Regions from separate parts of the Homo sapiens genome. Here all the other regions are linked to region 3. The links are contacts of gene promoters, found by promoter capture Hi-C in blood cells and fetal thymus (Javierre and others, 2016). All regions are on one chromosome and are shown on one strand. The core of a region is centred on a gene start or on the middle of the fragment in contact, and the rest is flanking DNA. Distances in the headings are between cores, read along the strand shown. Region 1 overlaps DNM3 (dynamin 3). Region 2 overlaps DNM3 (dynamin 3). Region 3 holds the start of PIGC (phosphatidylinositol glycan anchor biosynthesis class C). Region 4 overlaps DNM3 (dynamin 3). Region 5 overlaps DNM3 (dynamin 3). Region 6 has its middle 77 kb from the start of FASLG.

Region 1 (3,762 bases), core at 330-2,829, 260 kb before region 3:
ATGATGAAGAGAGGGAGAGAGACAGAGAGAAAGGGTGTGCAAGAGATACAGCAAGAGAGCAAAACAGAGAGAGAAAGAGAGACAGAGAATGGACCCTGGTTTACTTCAACTTCAAGCTGATGTTACAGAGATATCAATGAAAGGAAGAAAGAGTAAGTCACTGGGTTTGATTATTAGTTGATCATCAGTGATCTTTAGGATTTCATTGTCAATACAATGGTAAAGACAGAAGCTAGATTGCAGGGGGTTAAGGGGTCACCTTATGGAGATGAAATAGAATAAGTCTTATTCCAGCTCCATGGGCATGTCTCTATCGCTTTATGTCTCAGTCCATAAAATAGAGCAAAAATGGTGATCCTCCTCTAGTCTAAAATATAAGGAATGCTTTGAACTGCTGGGTGAGCTAATACTCTAAAGCCAGGGCGGTGATAGTAGTTATCTGTGTGTACTTTGAATGAAACTGGACTTAGAATGCTGAGCTAGTTGTTTTGTGGAGCCTACTTTCAGAATGTCACCTCTAATTTTGCATTCATGAAAAGCATTCTCCTGCCTGGACTAGAATCCAAAAATTTTTTGTTTATTATTAGTGGTGACTGATTGTCATTTGTGGACTGTGATCTACATGTAATGAAGTGGAATTTGGCCACTGGTTGTGTTGCAAAGCTTTTCTGAGTAGTGTTATTGCATCTTAGTTTTGACAAAGTTTGTTACTCCCACTAGTATTTAACTGGTATTAAATTCAAGATTATATTTTCATAATGTTGTTTGGAAACCAAAAGAAAATAATTGGTATGAACGTGCTTTGAAAAGTTAAAGGATTATATAAGTATTAATTATAATTATCATTAAAGTGATTTAATAGAAGTATTATTCTACTAAAATAAAATAAGAACTGCTAAATTCAAGATGTCATTGAGAAGAGGGGAGAAGTTTTTTTTGCTATGGTTTATTTCAGCTTCTGTATAACTTACATGGACTTTCTAAGAAAAATGTATACAGGCAATATTTATAAATATGTGTGTATATTTTAATGATGCTATGCCGGATCATTTCTGCTTGGATTATTTGTGGCCTTATTTAATTCTGGACTTATTTTCCAGCATAGTTTTGGGAATACAGATTCAATAATTTTTAGATATAACCAATAAGTACTGGGTGACTACTCTGTAAAAGCACTTCTTCATATCTCACATTTTAATCTTCACAATAGCTTCATCAGAGCAGGTGTTATTACTTTTTTATGTATTAAAAAACTAAGGCTCTGAGAGGTTAATTAGATTTTCGCCCATGGCGTACATAGCAGGGATTAGACGACTAGAACCCTACCATTAGTAGATAATAAGCTCAGGTGGTGAAAATCAATTAGCTTCAGTAAAGCCTAATTGTATCTGTAAATATGTTACAAATATCATACCGTGTCTCTGAGTTCTGAGTCAAATTTGCAGTGTTTTTGAAGCAGCATTGCCTTCTGTTACCTGGCTGCTCTTGTATAGTTTAGCATGAATGCATGGCAGTTTGCCCTGTAGGAACAAATCTAGTCTATGTGGATATACTATCATGATTCAGTTAGGTCTCAAGATCAGTAAATTAATTTATGTAAAGAATAAGATACTATGTATTTCGGTTTTTCAATACAGAACCATGAGTAGGAGAGTTTGTATGTTTACTGCATGCTAACCAACACTTGTTTGTTCTTTATGGTTTACCAATTTCACTCGTTAGATCCTGACTTTTACCCTGTATCGTAGATAGGGCTGAGATTATGCACCTCATTTTACTCACAAGGAAACTAAAGCCAAAGAACAGTGTGTGATTTTCTCAGTAGCCTTCAAATATATTGGCCTAGAAAATATTCTGATAGATAAATAGTCTAAGGACAAGTGGATTCATTGTAATATCTGCAATGCATTTTATTTCTTATATAATTAAGAGCTTACTGCTAGAATACAGTGTGATTTAGGTAAAACTTCTCAACATATAGCATACTTGAGGGAAAACAGAAGATCATAAAAAGTTTCCTTCTTTTATTGCAGGAATAGCATATGATTTATTTGAAGCCTAATTATTTTCCAGAGGAATGCTCTACATGTTTCCAATAGCTGTTTTGTGTTTCTGTAGAGGGTTAGAGGAGAAGCTGCCAGTTTCCTCCCAATACTGATGTTGCAAATCTCAGAACTTTAATCTGGAACACTCTCCTCTGTTATGTATATGTATGAAAATTTGCCCTACCTATTACCTTACTTTGGCATGTGGCATTTACTTGTGAAAAATGTCACAATATCTAATAGTTTATTTCCTACTCATGGATATAAGGCAAAATAACATTAAACAAGAATAAATATCTGTTTACCAACATTTAAATGATAGTTCTTTTGTTGTCAACTGGCAAGTACGGAGCACTTACCAAGTGCCGCCACTCCGCTGGGCTCTGGGGAACACAGCTCTTCCTTAGCTGAGCTCATAATCTGGACTGTGAGGCCTACACATCAGGGCAGAAAGCTTCTAGTTTCACTTTTCATATAGTAATTTTGAAAGCATAAGAGGCTTTGCAAAACATCTTTTAAAATAAAGATGCTTCTCCACCATCTCTAAGATAAGTTGGTTCTTTTTGGCAAAGGTGATTTTAATTGTTAGTACATTTCCAAGACAAGAAATGCAATCTGTTGACACGCCCTTCAAAATAATCAGATGAAAACAAGGAACACAAATATGTCCAGCCCTGAACTCTTCATTTTTCCTCTTGATGAATCCTTTCTTATGCTTTAAAACACTTGAGTTTACACACACACACACACACACACACACACACACACACACATATTTCTGGTAGGCGTGGAGATATATATCTATATATATCTTGCTATTAGGGCAATTCCCTGAAAGATTACACTACCTTCTTTATGCATAACGTCAATGCCTGATATTAAACAGAAACGAACTATGTGACTATGCTTTCCTTTTTAAATATGTGAACGTATTTCTCTACAGAGTTGTTTTGTAGCCGTATTGCTACTAAACTGGTGCCCAGCTCCAGGCCTGCAGACTGCTGACACACAATTAATCTCACAAATTTATGAATGCCAAAGCATGGAGCAAAATGAAAACAACTGGGGGAATGTTTAAGGGAAATAATTGGACTGTATCCAGATGTGCATGTGTAAAACATCACCACTTAACTCCTCCCCCATATCCTGTCTGAAGACAGGGTTTTTTTTTTTTTTTTTGAAAATAAACTGGGGTTATTTGAAAGAAGTTGTGGTCTCTGACTAAAACTGAATAAGCAAGGCCAGGCTGGCCATAATTCTGTGTGTTCTTGTATTTTTGTTTCTTAATTAACTCATTAGGTGCTGATGAATCAATCTGCCTCATGTCTGTTTTTGGTGGGTGTTGCCACAACTTTATGAACTCTATTTAAAGATAATATGTAAGGGGTTTCAAGACTGATAGTCGATTTCTTTGAGTTTTTGGTTATAACGAACTGGAACTTTTTACTATTAGAAATAGGCAACATTATTGTAGTGTGAAGGTCATCAAGCTGGGACGTGAAGTCTGGTCAAGAGGAAAAAAATGTGACAACATTTTATAGTTTTTTTTTTTTTAACAGTCTGTCCAAGATCAGTTAGGGGAAACAAACAAACAAAAAAACGATTTCTCTAAGATGCTTAACTCACTAGATAAAGCATAAAAATGGAGATAATAATGTTGAGTTTGTGTGCATGAAATTAATTTAGGATCTGGCATCACTGGGATATGAGAAGCTAG
Region 2 (3,819 bases), core at 193-2,692, 290 kb before region 3:
CTGTGGAAGCTTTCAGCATAGTGTCCAGTGTATATTAAGCACTTAAAAAAATGTTAGCTTCAGGGATGATTTCCAAAATATTTAGCAACCCAGACAGTAGGGGCATCAACCAGTAAGAACTGCTGTTGGCTGTAAAAATCTAATATGACCACCCCAGTGTTTATGGTATAGATAACAGCTCAGTTAGCCTTCATCAGTTTTATTGTTTCTACTTAAAACTCATGCTCCATCCCCATCCTATCCTATGGACAATGGCTCCTGGACCAGGCTCTGTAGTACTAACAGACTGTGGACTTACTAGGTGCCTGCAATTTATATTTTTGTAATCTTCTTAGTTTTGAGTACCTAGACTTAGTATAGATTTATTTCATGTTCCAGACGATTCAGGATGTTTTTCTTACCTAATAATTCCTAGAAAGACACTAGAGCCAAGCCTTGGGTTCCCTACTTTTTTTCGCCTAATGTTGGCAAGTAATTGTTATAATGTAGGTGTTCATTTTTTTCTCCTCCTTTCCCTCCTCCTCCTCCTGTTTTTTTCTGGAAGAGAAAAATTATATCTAAAGCTAATTGCCTTAAATTCTTTTTTAGAAAGTGATTGTATACTATAAATAAACTAACTCTTTTCAGTAATCGCTCATTTTTTTATTTTTGCAGTAAGGATAGAATGTATGTAAGAGCATTTAGGACATATAAAGCATTAAAGGACATATAAAGTGCAAAAGACATTGTCCTTTTAAGTTAGAAGACTTGATTCCCAACACTGCCACTTGCTAGTTACTTAACTGTAGTTAATTCACTCTGTGTTACATTTTTCCATCTGCAAAATTGGGAGTAATAGAACCTTTCTCATAGAGCAGGAGACCCCCAACCTTTTTGGCACCGGGGACTGGTTTCATGGAAGACAATTTTTCCACAGATCAGGATGAGGTGGATGGTTTTGGGATGATTCAAGTGCATTAAATTTATTGTGCACTTTATTTCTATTATTATTCCATTGTAATATATAATGAAATATGTATACAACTTATCATAACGTAGAATCAGGGGGAACCCTGAGCTTGTTTTCCATCATCTGGGGATGATGGGAGACAGCGACAGATCATCAGGCATTAGATTCTCATAAGGAACACACACCCTAGATCCCTTGCATGTGCAGTTCACAATTGGGTTTGCACTCCTGTGAGAATCTAATACTGCTGCTGATCTGACAGGAGGCAGAGCTCAGGTGGTAATTCAAGTGATAGAGAGCAGCTATAAATATGTATGGCCTGGTTCTTAACAGGCCAAGGACTGGTACTGCGTTCGTGGTTCAGGGGTTGGGAACCTCTGCCATAGAGTATTGTGAGGATTAAACAAGATAATACTTATCAAGCATTTAGGACATACATTTCAGTAAATTCATTTAATTTATTGTATTTATGAAGCACTTAGGATATACAGTTGACCCTCTGAATTCCATGGGTTTCACATCTGTGGATTCAACCAATTGCAGATTGAAAATATTTGAAAAAAATTGGGTCTGTACTGAACATGTACAGGCTTTCTTCTTGTCATTATTCCCTAAACAATATGATATAACAACTATTTACACAGCATTTACACTGCATTAGGTATTATAAGTGATTACTTACAATCTTTAAATAAGATGATTTAAGGTATACAGGAGGATGTACATAGGTTGTATGCAAATATGGTGCCATTTTATATAAGGGACTTGAGTATCTTTGGATTTTGACATCCATGGTAGGTCCTGGAAACAATCCCTCACAGACACCAAGAGACAACTGTAGTTAACATTCAGTAAATTCACTTAATGTATTCAGCAGGTATTTAGAGTACTTACTATGTGCCATACAGTATTCTAGGCACTGGGGATACAGCAGTAAATTTAACAGACAAAAATCCTGCCTGCATGATAATAAAGTGCAAACAATATAGTAAGGAAAGAGAATAGAAAATCTGGGAATGGGGTTGCAATGTTAAGTAGCATGGTTAAGAAAGGTGGTATTTGAGATTATATTGGCAAGCAGTGAGGAAGTAAGCATGCGGATGACTGAGGAAAGAGCCTTTCAAATGGTGGGAACAGTATGTGCAAAGACCCTGAGGCAAGAGTGTGCCTGGAGGCCAGAGGAGCTAGAATAAGGTGAGGGGAAGAATAGGAGTAGATAAGGTTGATAACTGGGACCTGCTTAAGATCTGAGTGGTACAATGATGGGCATGGAGAGGGGATCAGGAATGTACCAGTGAAGGTTTCTTGGAGGAGAAGGTAGATCTGGAAAACAGAGAGACCATGAAGAAGCATATGAAAAAAGGAGAACATTCCTGCTAGTGGGAAGAACATGAGCAAAGGCACAGGCAGTGGAAAAGACAGACCTAGAGAACATCCAGGATCGCCTGTCCAGAACAGACAGTGTGCAGTGAGAAGAGAGGGAAACAAGGTTGAATAAATGAGTGAGATGGATGATGGAGGCCTTGAAACCTAGGCAGAGGACTTTTGGTTTCTACTGATTAGAAAGATGTTTCTAGTCAATAGAAGCAAACCAATGAAAAAATCTAAAGTCCAAATTTAAAATCAATATATAAACTAACTCTCTCTTGCTAAAAGATACTGTTTGGGTTTGTTTTCAGAGACAAGTAAAGAATTTAAAGTTTTATTGATAGGTTTGATGTAAAATAGAGAAAAAGTTTTGATACTTAAAAAAAGTGTTTACTATTAAATAAAAGATTCCCTAATACTCTACTATGTGAGCTACAGTTATAAGCATTATGGCTTAATAAATTAGGTGTTACTTTATTAAAATAATAATCCTTTATGAATAATCTTAGTGTTGATAAAAACATGCTGGGGATCTTGTTCTCTTCTTTCTGCACATGATCAAGCTTTAAACCTAAGCGTTGTTTTGCTTGCTGCTATGTATGTATGATCACATACTCACAAATAAGGGGCAAAATGAGAGAGGCAGTGAGTCAAGTCATCTAAATGGTCACATTCGTCCTTTGGAAAATTATCTTGCAACTTGAGACCCATTGGCATTATTTATTAATTACTGCCTCTTTTTACATTCTACTTAATGCCAAGCTATGCAAAAAAGTTATGGTTGGAGAAAAAAGCCGTCTATGGAAAAGAACAAGCATTACCTGTGTGTGAGTCCTACTAGATTCATCAGACTTTTGTCTTCTTTGCCTCACACTTTTTAAATGTATTATCTTCAGAAAAAGCATTTTTACTTGAAAATAAGTTTGTGTTTCTGCTACAGCAAGTTCATCTCACATTGAGTTATTGTCCAAGACTGCCGTGGTAAATATAGTCTGCTCCACCTAGAACTGAACTTATTTTCATATGGATTGGTCCTCCTCAGAAATTTAGCATGTGTATAAACATGTTTCTTTAGCTTTCAAATGTGAATGAGATCCAGTGCTAAGTTGATTTTCATGAAATCTATCTTAAGAAGTAGATGATGTGACTATCAATTGTGTACAGGATAGAATGTTAGGAAACTTTTGATTCTATTCCTGCCTTTTATTTTGCAGCAGGAATTTGGCAATGTGTGTGCTCCCTCTGTTGTTGAGTTTCTTGAGTGTCTTCATGAAATAGATGCAAAATATCAGCTAATGGCCACAATAGATTTTCACTAAAAGGCTACACGAAATTATTAATTCTGTTTGTGCTGTAAAATGTGAATTACAGTCATGCATCACTTAACAATGGGAATACATTTAGAGAAATGCATCCTTAGGTGATTTCATCCTTGTAGAAATATCAGAGTGTATTTACACAAACCTAGGTGGTAGAGCCTGCTATATACCTAGGCTATATGG
Region 3 (3,414 bases), core at 226-2,725:
TTGGTGTTAGTCACAGGTTGAGCATACATTATCCTTTCATTCAAACTCAGGCCAGTTTAATCATCGCCCTCACAGAAGTCCAGGTGGTTCTTGTTCTTTATGAAGTTTTGAAATGAGACCTCCCTGGAAATTCCATGCTGTGTTGATGTTCTACCAACCTTTCCTTGTTTTCAAAGGCAGGGGCTAGGCCTACAATAGATGAATTTGTCTCTGAGGCAGGACAACACAGCCAAGTTCCTAGAAAAAGAGAGACTGTGAACCTACGAAAGTTGTGAAAGGTCAAGAGTAGTACTGAGATAAAGTCAAATCAACTCAGTTTACTAAAAGTCTGAGAAAAATGTATGTGGTAGTCACCTTATGGGACATTAAAACTGCATTTCAGATTTGAAAATTATAATTCCTTGAATAATAATAGACATCTGTTAGCTATCGCTTATTGAGTACCTACTATGTGCTAAGTGCCTTATGTATCTTCTTTCACTTAATCCTCACCACCTTGTAAGTTAGTATTAGTCCTGCTTTGGTAAAAAAGCTGAGATTCAAGATGCTTAAGTAACTTTGCCCTAAGGTAACAGAGCAGAGCCAGGATTCAAACCAAAGTCTTATCCCAAAGCCTGTGTCTCACATTGTATCTCCCTCTAAAGCAGTTCTTAACTCAGTGGTTCACATATCCCTTAGGTATATCACATTGCATGCTTATATCTGGATTTGTGTAAATTTATAGGGATAATATCCATAGTTTTTATTGGTTCTCAAAGGCATGTTATTTGTATTTTTTAAGTTACCAATCCAAAGACAATAGTAAGCTGCACCATACAGAAAGGTATGAGCTCTATAGTTTAACCAAAATCAAAGCCTCAAAGAAACTAGACTCTTCTTCCATTAGCTGAGCTTAGCATCCTTTAAAGAGCTATCAATCTACTCAAAACAAGGAAACTCTTGAGAGGATCGAAGAAGATAATCATTCCTTTTTCACAATGAGAAAACTAAGAGTCAGAAACACCACAGCCATCCGGCAAATTTGAGAAAAAAAAAATTCATATTGCCCGACTTTATTTCTTCCATGATAGACCACAACAAATATTGCTTGGCAAGCCAGACACCGTTACCCCCTCTGCAGCAGGGATCCCAGCCCGGGAATCTTAAGGCCGCCGCCGGGGTTGGAGGGTCTGCGACGCCCAAAAGGGCAGCGCCCGCCCGCAGAGTGGGGCTGGGAGGGGACGGGGTAGGGTAGGGTGACCCCAGGGTGCGCCTTCACTCTTCTGGCACCCCATTTGGCTTTTTGGGTGGGCCTCCCACTTCCGCCGCCGCCCCTCACTCAGCCTTGGGTCTGCGGGAGGCAGCAGAGGAAAAGGAGCCCCGGAAACACTGACCGTTACACGGAACCCACCTACCCGAGAGTTCCTAGGGTTGCGCAGCTGGGGGACGGCGGCACCCAGCCTTTTTCCCGCTTCGGGGCGCCGGGGCTGCGACTGTGGCCAAGCACTTCCGGGTCCGCCGCAATCTCCTTAGCGAGGGCACCCTTCCCCGGCTGGAACCATCGCGACGTGACTGCTGCCCCCTCCTGGCTGCTCGAAGGACCTCCGGTCTCCTCTCCTGGAGACTGGCCCAAACCCGAATGCTCTGAGCCTAGGAAGGCAAATCCCCAGCAATCCCCTATTGAAAGATGGGATGTGCCATCTGAAGGACTGGGTAAGGCAAGAGAGGACAAGGAAAGAGGCTGGGCCAGTAGGTGAGAGATAATGGCCGCTTTTGTTGCGCTCCTTTATTAAGTCAGGCCCTCAGCTGGGACTTCCCGTGCATCCATGCGTTCATTCCACAGATACTGATTGAATGCCTGCATGTAACAAGCCATGCTTGGGGTGCTCATGATACAGCCGTGAATGAAACACACAAAAATTGCTGCTCTCATGAAACTCTCTTTTTTGGTGCATTGACCTTTACACTGATTATATCATCTCCCCCCTCAAAGAGGACAAATCTAAGGCTCAGATAAGTTGTATTTGTCCAAAGACAGGCACCTGGGAAGTAGATGAACAGAGATCAATATCCAGTTGTCTATAGCTTCAAAGCTTGGTTTTTTTCCTCTTTACCTCCTAAAAGAAGTGAGGACAAGATTGCTAATTAAACTGAGTTCATGGAAATATTAAAGGATATATAAACAGAAGGAAGTAATAAAGAAACAAAGGGATGTAGTAAAACACAGGATACAGTGGAAATAAAAGTCAGAAAACATGACCCATTTACTAGCTCAGTGACTCAAGGCAAATCACACTACCTGAGCTTTGATTTCTTCATCAGTAAAATGGAGATGACATTATTTGCACTTGGCTACTTTATAGGATGGTTAAAGAGTTAAATATAAAAATGGTTTGTAAAGTGTTCACTATATGGCTGCTATTAGCTGACTTTGGCCATCGTAATGATAGCAATGTTTAAGTGTGATATATTCTGTAAAATGTTCTCTATTTCCCTCTAGGCTTCTGTTCCAAAATTTGACAAGATTCCTTGGCTTAGTGAGGCCAGCCTTGTAAACAAGCCATTAGTGCTCAGCCTTCCCAGAAGGTAACCTCTCAGCCACCGAGGGCAAAAGTTTTACGAAACATCTCACAGAAGATGATTTCTTCTTAAGGGATGGGGACAATTATCAGAGGGCACATTTGATCCATTGAGAAACTCAAGTCAAGTGCTTTAAAAATAGAAATAATCCGGGTTTCTCAGAAAAAAATGATCACTGAGTATAGGCCTGGCTAGAGGAGATGAGATCTCAAAATTTTTCCCTCTCCACCACTACCACTCAACAGTATAAGATAATTTTTCCCCTAGACACTGTCTCTCAAAACACTTCCATCCTCTTTCTCACCCCACATTTTCTCCACTGCTGTAGTCTGAAATTTTCACATTTTTACCATCAAAAGTCTAGAACAGTAAGTTCCCATCTTTATAGAATAGTAACTCTGTATGTAACTTTGAGGCACCCTCCTACATTCCTGTTAGTCCTACTCCTTCCAAACAAACTACTATATGACACATAAATCTATTTTTCAAAATTGCAGGAATTACATATCTAGGGAGCATTTCAACTGTCTCTTGAAATAATTGGGTTACCGTGTCCCTTCTCCATTTTTGATGAAATGGTTCCTAAGTGTAGTGATAAACCCCACTCTGGGAAGGGGACATGGACAGAAGGGTAGGTGTGAGGTAGTGTTGGGGTGAATGAGAGAAACCAGAAAGAGGGCAGAGAGAAAGAGAAAGGGCAGGCATAGAGGCCATTCCAAAGGCACACGACAGACTAAAAAGGAATGACTCCTTGGCATTCGAAACAGCTCGTTAGAAAAGCCAGACTCCCCAAAAAGAGTTTCTCCTCCTGTTGATAACTACCATGTACCCTCCTGCCCATGGATAAGTGACTTC
Region 4 (3,615 bases), core at 424-2,923, 330 kb before region 3:
GGCATGCGCCTTTAGTGTCAGCTACTCAGGAGGCTAATGTGGAAGGATCCCCTGAGCCGGGGAGATCGAGGTTGCAGTAAGCTGAAATTGTGCCAGGGCACTCCAGCCTGAGTGACAGAATGAGACCTTGTCTCAAAAAAATAAAATTAAATTAAATACGTGTAGCTCTGAAATATGATTCTGAACATAGTAAATTCTAATCTAATAAAGAAACTGATTTAAGCTTGATTAACAATTAGAGCAAACCACTGAATTATGACTTATATTAAAACCCTAGCAGATGCTATTGTTGCTTTAGATGGGAGAGATTTTCCTTTATCATCCTTGACCTCCCAGACATTGTGACAATACAATAAGACTGCTACATGTTTACAGTAGCCCTTGGTGTTGATATTGCCCTTGATTTAGAACCATGGTACCAATAATTTATTGACTAATCTGTGATCTAGGGAAGGTATAAGTATTTGGTATTCCAAAGGAGTATAAAGCACAGTTGATCTCTACTTGATAATAATATCAGCCCTTCACTGATGCCAGACATTCTATTGAGTACTTTATATACATTCATCTCACTTAGTATTTACAAAATCTATTTGAATTTAGGATTATTAGTTCCAATTCTTAGTTGACAATAAATGAGGCTTGGCTATATTAAGTAAGTTGCCTAAGTTCACATAGCTAGTAAATGGCAGAACTGACCTAAAAGCCCAGAAAGTCTATGCTTTGAACGAATAAGCTGTAATCTTATTGGGAAAATGGGAGCACAGCAAACACAGTGGCGAGTAATTCAAAACAAGGTGATGTAAGTGCTAAACTCAGATAGTGAACAGAGTAGATAGAAGAAAGAGAGCCACATGGGCTACCAGAGCTTCTTTATTTGTTAAAATAGTATAATAGATGGACTCCTTTTTTTTTTTAATCTTAGAATGTTACTTTCAATTTAGCCATTTAAGGGTTTTGCAAAGGACAAATTATAAAACTTCATTGACTACAAAGGTGTCACGAGATCTTTTGTTGGTGATGATGTCCATATTGCATACCAGAAGATTCTTTTGGAAGGATTGCCCAGAAACTGCTCTACGTATTTATACTTCTACCTGTCATTCTCTGGAATATTTGATATTTTAATAATCATAATAATAGCTATAATTTATTGCATGGGTGTTTTATATCAGGCAGTGTGTTAGGTGCTTTGTTCTTCAAAATAACCTTGCAGAGCATATACTCTTATCTTCATTTCGATGGATAATAATAAAAATAGCTGATATGATTAAGCATTTCTTACATACCAGCCTTGTGGTAAGCACTTGACATTCATTATTTTCCTTAATCTTCACAACGACCTTATGGTCTAGGTAGCAACGGTTTCATGACTGAGGTAACTGGGGCACAGAGAGGTTGGATAACTTGTCTGGGGTGACACATGTAGTATGTGGTAGAGCTAGGATTTAAACTCATGAAGTCCAGCACCAGAGCTGGGGCTCACAATTGTTTGCTTCCACTCTGGTTTCTCCAAGGCCACGTGACTAATATGGTGGAGCTAGGGATCAACTACAAAGTCTTGGCCCTTTCCACTCATTGGTACTCTTTTGACTCTTAAATCTGAGTGATTCTTTCATCACAGTGACCCTGGCCCTGAACCTCTTCAGTCTTTCCATTTTCCAGTATGTGCCATTCCTGAAAACATAACCAATTCCTGAATGTCAAAGGAATTGCTTTTTTTCCAGTGATAAAAATCTGTAGTGATATCTGTCTTTTTATCCCTGAAAACAGAGGGGAGAATTTAATAGCATAGGCCTGGAGCTTGAGATGAGTTTGGGGCCCCACTTGCCACTTGTAAGCTGAATCATTCACATCATAAGGTTGAGTCGCTCTATGCCTCACAGTGTTCAAAGATAAAAGAGGAAGAGCAGTGTGAATCTCATAGGGTTGTTGAGAAGATTAGTGAGACATCCATGTAAAGTGCACACTGCTTATAGTAAATATTCATTAAGGGTTAGCAACCATTTTTATTATTGCAATTAATAAAGTTGTCCTTTTGAATTCTCAGAATTGTACCAGTAAACTTTAACTTAACCAGTAGTTCTCATGGCTCCTCTAATTTAATAACGTTAGCAGTTTAAAGTAGTCCTCAGGGTTATAATTAATGCCTTATTTATTTACTGAATGTGGGGTATTTACTGAAAGTATAGTTTGATGATTAAAGGTAAATAGGGTTTCCTTAGTGAAAGATTTGTCTTGATGAGATAAGAAAGTCAAATTGGAAAGAAGTAAAAAATTATATTCAGAAAATAAACTCCAAGAATGACCACTGTTATTTTAAATTTTATCTTGGTAACGTTAACATTCCTTAACTTCCTGCTATGTGTGAGGCCCTGTTCTATGGATTCCCTCATTTAATTTTCACCACAATTCTATAAGGGGATATACTATTATTAGCTCTTTCTGCCACTCCCCCACTTTTTTACAATTGAGGAACAGATGTACTCAAAGAAACTCAGGAAGTCGGAGTTCGAGATCAGCCTGGCCGACATGGTGAAACCCCATCTCTACTAGAAATACAAAAAAATTAGTCGGGCCTGGTGGCGGGTGCCTGTAATCCCAGCTACTTGGGAGGCTGAGGCAGGAGAATCACTTGAACCTGGGGGGCGGAGGTTGCGGTGAGCTGAGATTGCACCATTGCACTCCAGCCTGGGCAACAAGAGCAAAACTCTGTCTCAAAAAAAAAAAAAAAAAAAAAAAACAACTCAGGAAGTCCATGTTTTCTTAACGTAAATTTTTACTTTCCTGGCATCAAAAATTGGTCTTGACAAAAGTGCCCAAAGCGTTTACACAAAATTTTACAGCACATCCTGCATCGTGTGGCATCAGCTGTGAGTTATCCCTTTTGTGTTGTCAATCACATTTTAATTCCCTGATAGGCCAATCTCAATCACAAATTTATTGTGAGTGTCTTTTCTTCTTAAATAATCTGATGCAAAGAGGCAAATAATACTGCCTACTGCCTAGAAAAGGGATTTTGACATTATTTCCTGATTTAATTTCCTATGTATTGAATCGATGCCAGACACTCTTCTGGGGGTGGGGTGGTAAATAAGACAGATTAAGTTCTCACTCTCTCATGAAGCTTATATTTTAGTGGTGGAAAAGATAGAAAATGAACAACAAAAAGACAAATGAGCAAGAAGAAATTGTACATATTTTCAGTGTAGAGAATTAAAATTGGTTGCTATGAGGAAAAGTGAAGATGGAGGGGCAGTGTGGAGAGAGGTAATAGGAGAACCTCTCTGAAGAGGGATGGTATAAGGTGAGTTCTGCATGACAAGTCGTGGCTAACCATGCAAAGGTCAGAAGGTAGAGTCTTGCCAGAAGGTACAGCAAGGACTAGAAAGAACTTGCATGTTGTAGAAACCAAAAGATAGCCAGTGCGGCTGAAACATGTGGCAAAGAGTGGAAAGAGATTAGGCTGGGTGTTCTAAGACACTTTCTGTTTTTAGTGTGGATATTGAGATGTAGGTGATCACTTCTACCTGTTTCGTACTCTTCATAAAGGTTCTTCCATTACAGAATCTCTAAGACTCTATATACTTATGTACCTGCCCTACCCAGCAATTT
Region 5 (3,848 bases), core at 641-3,140, 310 kb before region 3:
TTTTAGAATGGTTGGTTTTAAAAGTTGGTAGCTGCGATAGTTTCAGAATCATTCTAAAACAGCACACAGTTCAATAAAAATATAATGTAAGCTACATATGTAATTAAAAAATTTCTGATAGCCACATTAAAAAACAAAAGGAAACATGAAATTAATTTTTACAATGAATTTTATTTAGCCCAATATATGTAAAATACATTTTGACATGCAATAATTGTTTTAAATTAATGAGATATTTTACATTATTTTTTGTATTAAGTTTTCAAAATTCAGTGTTTATTTGAACACTTATGGCACATCTTAATGGAAACTAGTCAATAGGGCTCAACCACCATATGTGGTTAGTGGCTACCGGCTACACTATCACCTACTTCTGTCTTTCCCCCTCACTAATCCCACTCTCATTCACTCATAAATCCTGTTGATTTTACCTCCTAGATATTTCTTCAGTAGGTTCATTTCCTTTTAACTTTATACATCATGGCTTTAATTCATATCCTGGCCATATTTCACTTGGGTTATTGCAATGGGTTTTATAACCTAGTTTCTCTGTTCCAGGGAGCATGCAAGATCCATTGAAACGCAGGTACTATAGTAAGATATCTACTGATACGTAGTTTTAACGAGAAAATAAGAAAGCTCAGATTCATATTTAATATTTATTTATTATACATACTGATGCCAGCACCCTTGCTCTGCATCTCTGATACAATGAAATAACTAGTATATTTTCATTGAGTGGTATGATTAGCATGCTACTTGTAAGCCCTGGTAGGGTGGGTAATGGTCTTAGTGTGAAATAATTTAACCAGCTCCTTCTTACTCAAAACTATTAAATAGATGTGATCATTTACTCTATGGAAAATAAAGTTTGATTGTATGTGTGCATGCACGGGCTTCAAGCTTCATTGTGAATAAGAATCACCTTGGCAACATATTTAAATGTAGATTTTTGGGTTTCATATATATACATTCTCATTCATTTGGAATGGTAGGTGGCCCAGGAATCTGTATTTTTATAAAGCATTTGAATGATTGTAATATAACTGGTAGAAACCATACTGTATTAGTCTGTCTTCATGCTGCTGATAAAGACATACCCGAGACTGGGAAGAAAAAGAAAAAGAGGTTTAATGGACTTACAGTTCCACATGGCTGGGGAGGCCTCACAATCATGGTGGAAGGCAAAGAGAGACAAGTCACGTCTTACATGGATGGCAGCAGACAAAAAGAGAGCTTGTGCAGGGAAACTTCCATTTTTATTCCATCAGGTCTTGTGAGACTCATTTACTATCACGAGAACAGTGCAGGAAAGATCTTCCCCCATAATTCAGTTACCTCCCACCAGTTTCCTCCCATGACACATGGGAATTGTGGGAGTTAAAAGTTAAGATGAGATTTGGGTGGGGACATAGCTAAACTATATCACTATACTATACTATCACTATACTTTGAGTATTAGTCTGTTCTTTGTGAAGTAGAGAGTTAAAAAGCCGTGGAGAAAAGTGCATTAGCCCAGACTGGAGAGGGATGCTAAATGGGGGTTATAAAAGCAACAGCACACTGAAATGGAAATTGGGCACCAAGGCAATGCTGAAACAGGGAATCAAGGGTGACAGGGGCTGGAAATATGGAGAGAGGCTTGGAAGACAGTGATGAGAACCGTGGTCTATTCCATAATTTTCTCTGGGATTGGCCTTCCTTCTTCAACTAGAAAAGTTAATAGCAATATAAAAATGAAATCTGATTATTAGGGTATTTTCATCTTCCTTTAGTAACTTACATTCATTAGTTTTTCAATAAGTAATTTTTAAACATTTCAGGATGTCAACATATTGAGGAATTTCAGTGTAGGACAGTTTTTGACCTTAGAACAATATCATCCAATTGCATTTAGCATTTCATTTCTAGTTCTGTGACAACAAAATTATCTTGTATAGAGGACATGGTAAATGATGCCCTCTGGATAACAGAATTTAACTTCACAATAACTCTGAGGGGAAAAAAACCTCACATTTTTCCTTAAATTATATAAATACTTATCTATAAATAATTTCTGTTAAATCTATAATCCAAGTTGTTAATATTTTAAAACTTAAAACCTGTTTAAAAAATTTTATGAAGATGCTACATGTTTTGTAATATGGTAGAGAACAACCAGAAGATTTAAACTTCATAGGTTTAAAATTTTACAATATGCTGTTCAAATTATAAATTAAGACTATTAAAAACTCCAAACTTTTCATTTTAGTTTATTATTTTATCTTTCTCCTTCAGTCAGCCTTATTTAGGACTAACAAGGGGCTAACTGATTGAATTGAGTTTCTTCTTTTCGTCATTTGCTGGCAGGTCTCTGGTGGAAATCCTAATGGGCTGCAAACTAGGCAAACAAATGGGCCAGTAGGCTGGAAGTGGGGAAGGGACAGTGGATATGGAGAGTCTATTGTTCATCCAGTCAACTAAATATGTTTTAATTGTAGCAACAATGCCATAAGTAGGCCTGACACAGTCTATTAGTTTGCCTCACTTCATTCTTGTTTCAGTCACTCCACTTCAACCATCGATGAGTCTGAGATTTTTATTCCATTCATTGACAGGAGAGACTTCCCTTCACTCATCTGCACTTTTGGAAGATAAATTCTCTTGAATAACTCAATGGAAGTTGAGTTTGGAGGGAAAATACTATTTTTATTGCAATTAATATCTTGTTTTTAACTTCTTAGTCCAAGACATCTAATCTCCAGTGGCTTTTGTTAAACTAAACACCTCTGCTGATTTCTGCTTTTTCGTAGGTGATTCGCAAGGGGTGGCTCACCATCAGCAACATTGGCATCATGAAAGGCGGCTCGAAGGGATACTGGTTCGTCCTTACTGCGGAAAGCTTGTCCTGGTATAAAGATGATGAGGTAAGTCACAGAGAGTGATAAAGTTTTCTTGTTAAAGTATTTCTCATTTTAAATTAACTGATATTATTATACTATGCAATTTTGAGACACCAGTGGTTCTCTTTCAGTGAGATTAAGCTTGGAATGTTTGTTTAAAAAGGCACTATTATTTTCTTATAGATTTTAAAGTTTACAATATTCGCCCAAATTTCTTTTTCTTTTTGTTTATTTCTTTGCTGTAACCATATGTTTGCTTACCTGAAGAAATGGAGGTAGGCATCAAAGTTGAAAACCTCCTTCTTTATAATCATGTCAATGTACTGGTAAAGTGAAAACAATTTTCGTTAAAGAAAGTGTTGAAGGACCCAAGGTAATAGAACATTTTAAGAGTGAAATTAATAATATTGATGCACAGTTAATAAAGCATGTTGGAATTGTTCCTGTGACATCTGTCTCAAATGAAAGGCTTTTAAGAACGTCCACATCGCTAGTCTTCAAGTGAGTCTCAGATCATTGTTTATACAAATTTTGTTCTTTGAGAATTTGATATCTATGTAAAAGCATGAATTATGGTAATTATAGTGTTCTGGTTCATGTTAGATGTTAATAATTTTGGTCCTGTGACTTACTACTCATTTAAATTTGATAGCTATAAAAGTGCAAACAAAAAACTTATATTAGTCTTACAGAACCATTTAAGTGCTAGAAATCGATACCATTAAAATGTGAGGGAGCACAGATAGAAATTAAACTATGTCTTGAAATTTTTAATAGCCCTGGTCTGACCTGATAATCTTTTGGTACTTATAATGCGGCATGCAAACATTAGATAAGGATACTCTGTGATAGCAAAACTATGTACAGGTGAGATTCTCAATTTCATGTGGCCACGAAGGGCATGTGTTCAAAGTTAAAAGTTTTTCCTATCTTGGCCTGACATCTTTTGAAAGCATTACCGGGTGC
Region 6 (3,929 bases), core at 646-3,145, 290 kb after region 3:
TATTGGTCTTGTATCCTGCAACCTTGCTAAACTCACTTATTAATTCCTGGGGTCTTTTTGTAGATTCCTTAAGATTTTCCACATAGACAAATGTATCTGAATAAAAAGTTTTATTTCCTCCTTTCCAATCTGTATGTTTTTTACTTCCTTTTTTTGTGTTACTGAACTAGCTAAACAGAAAGTACAATGTCAAATAAGAGTAGTGAGAGCAGCTAGCCTTGTCTTGGTCCTAAGTATTCACTATTTCTCCATAAAAAATTAACTGTACATTTTTCATAGCTGCCTTCAATCAGTTTAAGAAGACAACCTTATATTTATAGTTTGCTGTAAGTTTTTTAAAAAAATTATGACTGGACATTGAGTTTTGTCAAATGTTTTTTTCTGCATCTATGAAGATAATCAAGATAATCACATAGTTTTTTTTTTTTTAGTTTGCTGATATGATTAATTATACTGATTGATTTTCAAATGAAGAAACATTCTTTCATTTCGTAGATAAACTTATCTTGCTCATGGTGTATATTCCTTCTTATATGTTCCTGGATATTACTTGTTAATAATTCATTGGGAATTTTTCGTGATCATGCTCATGAAGGATATTGGTTTGTAATTTTATTCTCTTGCATACATTTTGTCTGGTTTTGTTGTCAGGGTAATGATGACCTCACAAAAAAATTTAGAAAATATTTCTCCTAGTCTATTTTCTGGAAAAAATTATGTTGATTTAATGTTATTACTTTCTCAAATGTTTGGTTGATATTATCAGTGAAGTCTTGTGGTACTTTTCTTTGTTGGAAGGTTTTAAACTATAAATTCAGCTTTTAATAGATGGCTCAGTTTACTTATTTCTTCTCAAGTGAATTTTGGCAGTGTATCTTTAAAGATTTATTCCATTTTATTTAAGTCATTGAATGTATGGGCATAAAGTTATTTGTAGTATTCTCTTGTACCCTTTTAATGTCTGTAGTATCTGTAGTAATATCCCTTCTTTCATTCCTGATATTGATAATTTGTGTTATCTTTTTTCTGTCTTAGTCTGGCTAGGGGTTTATTAATAATTTTGATGTTTTAATACAATTGATTTTATAAATGTTCTCTATTTTGTGTTTTTAATTTTATTGATTTGTGCTCTTTCTTATTTTCTTCCTTCCATTTGCTTTGTGTTTAATTTGCTCTTATTTTTCTAGTTTCTTAAGGTATAAAGTTGGAATATAAATTTAAAAGCTTTATTCTTTTCTTTTTTTCCTCATGTTTCTTGGCTGGAAGTCAATGGATATTGTCCAGAGTTGAAACATTATTTATTTATGTAGTTATTTTTTGAGACAAGAGTCTTACTCTGTTACCCAGGCTGGAGTGCAGTGGCACAATCTCGGGTCACTGCAAACTCCACCTCCCGGGTTCAAGTGATTCTCATGTCTCGTGTCTCAGTAGCTGGGACTACAGGTGTGTGCCACCACTCCCAGCTATTTTTTTTGTATCTTTAGTAGAGATGGGGTTTCATCATGTTTGCCAGGCTGGTCTTGAACTCCTGGCCTCAAGTGAAGCACCTGCCTTGGCCTCCCAAAGTGCTGGGATTACAGGTGGGAGCCACTGTGTCTGGCCCTGTATTTTAATATTTAGGTAATTTAGAATATTTTCTGAATTCTCTTGAGACTTCCTTTTTGATCAATGGGTTACTTAGAAAGGTTTTACTTAATTTCCAAAATTTTTGGAATTTTCCAGATACCCTCGTTATTAATTTCTAATTTAATTCTCTTACGGTCAAAGAAAACAATGCTTTCTATTGTTTTCAATTGGCTATAGTTTGCTTATGGTGCAGAAGATTGGTAGGTAACCTTTTCTGTAAAGGGTCAGATAGTAAATACTTTTGGTGTTAGGGCCATATGGTCTCTCCTGCACTATTCATCTCTGCCTTTGTGACACAAAAATAGCCACAGACAACACACAAACAAATTGGCATGGTTATGTCTCAATAAGACTAATTTACAAAAATAGATGGTGGGTGAAATTTTGTCCACAGGTTATAGTTTGCTAATCTCTGATCTACCTTGGTGAATGTTCCACATACACTTGAAAAGAATGTATATTCTCTTGTTCTAGGGCAGAATACTTTATAAATATTAATTAGGTCAAGTTGACGGAGAATGTTCAGATCTTCTTTTTTTTGTTTTTGTTCAGAGTCACTTTATTTGAAAGGCTCTGCACATATCTTTGCATACCACAAACTAGAAAAACAAGTTATCATAAATTAGAGAATTAAAAATAAAACACATTGATACAATATTTGAAATATGAAAGACCCTGAGAAGTCATATTTGGTAGTACATTTCAGTCACAACAGGCAAAAGTTTGCTATTTTGAAAAAGAATCAGAAAAAAGGGTGAAAGAGATTTTATGTATTTCTTTCTTCTTCTGTCCAAAATCTAGTTCTTGTGTTTGCTATTTTCACTGCTATAATTTAATTAAAAAGTATATAATCTTCTAAAAATTTCTGGTATAATGCTATTAAAAATACATAGCGATAATGCTTTCACATATATGAGGTTTTCACATATTATATAATATGAAAGCTTATAGTTTTCAAAATTAGGCTTCCCTTTCATAGACTGATGCCTGCCACAAACTATTTACTTTTAAAAGATATTTCCTTTAAATACGCTAGTAAACTATCAGATCACTATATTTCATAGTCTATTATACACAACTGAACATCAGAACCTAGAAACTGAATTGGCAGAAGCAATGATTAAATCTAGACATAACTAAGAAAAAACAAAATTAAGTCCCCAGGAAAAGGCTAAGAGAAGGTACTCTGGGCATTTCTGACACAATTTGTCATAATGTCAAAATAACATGACTTTGTAAATAATATTAACTATATGTAATATTTCTGCCATACAAATGACCTAGAGATTGAATTATAACTTCTGTTAATTTTTATAAAAGATAAGTCTGTTCCAACCAGTATTTAGTTGATGAAGAATAGTGTTCATGGAACTTAGGTCAAATAGGGTTGTTCATAAAATAAATTCATTTTTATCTTTTCTAGAATGTTTTTTTTCTCTCAAAAGACAAGGGACTGAGCAGCTATAAAATGTTCACTTTTCTGGTTGTTCAGGTCTTCTTAATTCTTGCCTATTTTCTACTTCTGTTAATTATCAGGAGGTGCTTTGATGTCTCCAAGTATAATTGTAGATTTGTCCATTTTTCCTTTTAGTTGTATCAGTTTTCGATTCATGTATTTTGAAGCTCTGTGGTTTTGCACATACATACCTGGATTGTTATGTGTTCTTGGTATGTTTGCCTCTCTTCCTCCCTGACAATGTTCCTTGTTCTGAAGTTTGCTTTGATAACAATATAGCCATTCTTGCATTCTTTTTGTTAGTGTATGTTGATGGTTTGTCATTTTCTATTCTTTTATTTTTAATTGATCTATATAATAATATTTATAGTAAGCTGCTTATAGACTTTAATTGTATCCCCCAATTTTTGATATGTTCTTTTCATATTTAAGTAGGTCAAAATATTTTCTGAATTCTCTTGAGACTTTTTGATCAATGGGTTATTTAGAAGGGTGTTGTTTAATTTTTTCTTTCTTTCTTTTTTTTTTTTTTTTGACGGAGGCTCACCCTGTCTCCCAGGCTGGAGTGCAGTGGTGTGATCTTGGCTCACTGCAGCCTCCACCTCCCAGGTCCAAGGTATTCTCCTGTCTTAGTTTCTCAAGTAACTGGGATTACAGGTACGTGTCACCAAGCCCAGCTAATATTTGTATTTGTAGTAGAGACTGGGTTTTGACATGTTGGCCAGGCTGGTCTTGAACTCCTGACTTCAGTTGATCTGCCCACCTCGGTTTCCCAAAGTGCTGGGAGTACAGGCATGAGCCACCGCGCCTGGCCTTAATTTTCAATTCTACAGAGCTTTTAGGTGAT

Evidence for each region. The method cuts DNA at HindIII sites, captures the fragments that hold promoters and counts their contacts. A CHiCAGO score of 5 or more calls a contact.
Region 1: a fragment that was not itself captured here is called in contact with the fragment with the promoter of PIGC in region 3 in 2 of 17 cell types (non-activated CD4 T cells and naive CD4 T cells); the score reaches 7.3 in non-activated CD4 T cells.
Region 2: a fragment that was not itself captured here is called in contact with the fragment with the promoter of PIGC in region 3 in 1 of 17 cell types (total B cells); the score reaches 5.2 in total B cells.
Region 4: a contact is called between a fragment that was not itself captured here and the fragment with the promoter of PIGC in region 3, in 4 of 17 cell types (naive CD8 T cells, naive CD4 T cells, total CD8 T cells and 1 more). The highest score is 6.7, in naive CD8 T cells.
Region 5: a contact is called between a fragment that was not itself captured here and the fragment with the promoter of PIGC in region 3, in 8 of 17 cell types (non-activated CD4 T cells, activated CD4 T cells, total CD8 T cells and 5 more). The highest score is 6.9, in non-activated CD4 T cells.
Region 6: a contact is called between a fragment that was not itself captured here and the fragment with the promoter of PIGC in region 3, in 2 of 17 cell types (megakaryocytes and erythroblasts). The highest score is 7.7, in megakaryocytes.

The regions. Positions count from the first base shown.
Region 1 is chr1:172,178,597-172,182,358 of GRCh38, forward strand. The region is part of intron 14 of DNM3 (dynamin 3); the gene reads left to right. Among named protein-coding and RNA genes, the nearest start is that of DNM3OS, 36 kb to the left of the region's middle. RefSeq lists an enhancer at 2,550-2,599. The HindIII fragment of the contact is 1,836 bases long and covers 662-2,497 here.
Region 2 is chr1:172,156,101-172,159,919 of GRCh38, forward strand. The region is part of intron 14 of DNM3 (dynamin 3); the gene reads left to right. Among named protein-coding and RNA genes, the nearest start is that of DNM3OS, 13 kb to the left of the region's middle. The HindIII fragment of the contact is 2,871 bases long and covers 8-2,878 here.
Region 3 is chr1:172,442,594-172,446,007 of GRCh38, forward strand. It overlaps PIGC (phosphatidylinositol glycan anchor biosynthesis class C), which reads right to left and starts at 1,476. Exons shown (of 2, transcript NM_153747.2): 1 at 1,395-1,476; 2 at 1-237. The coding sequence starts at 29. It overlaps C1orf105 (chromosome 1 open reading frame 105), which reads left to right. Exons shown (of 7, transcript NM_139240.4): 2 at 2,480-2,565. RefSeq lists enhancers at 1,308-1,831, 1,555-1,864. The HindIII fragment of the contact is 3,601 bases long and covers 1-2,070 here.
Region 4 is chr1:172,110,902-172,114,516 of GRCh38, forward strand. All of the region lies in intron 13 of DNM3 (dynamin 3), which reads left to right. Among named protein-coding and RNA genes, the nearest start is that of MIR3120, 26 kb to the right of the region's middle. The HindIII fragment of the contact is 2,904 bases long and covers 222-3,125 here.
Region 5 is chr1:172,128,383-172,132,230 of GRCh38, forward strand. It overlaps DNM3 (dynamin 3), which reads left to right. Exons shown (of 21, transcript NM_015569.5): 14 at 2,793-2,906. Among named protein-coding and RNA genes, the nearest start is that of MIR3120, 8.5 kb to the right of the region's middle. The HindIII fragment of the contact is 1,978 bases long and covers 902-2,879 here.
Region 6 is chr1:172,733,836-172,737,764 of GRCh38, forward strand. No RefSeq gene overlaps it. Among named protein-coding and RNA genes, the nearest start is that of FASLG, 77 kb to the left of the region's middle. The HindIII fragment of the contact is 1,346 bases long and covers 1,223-2,568 here.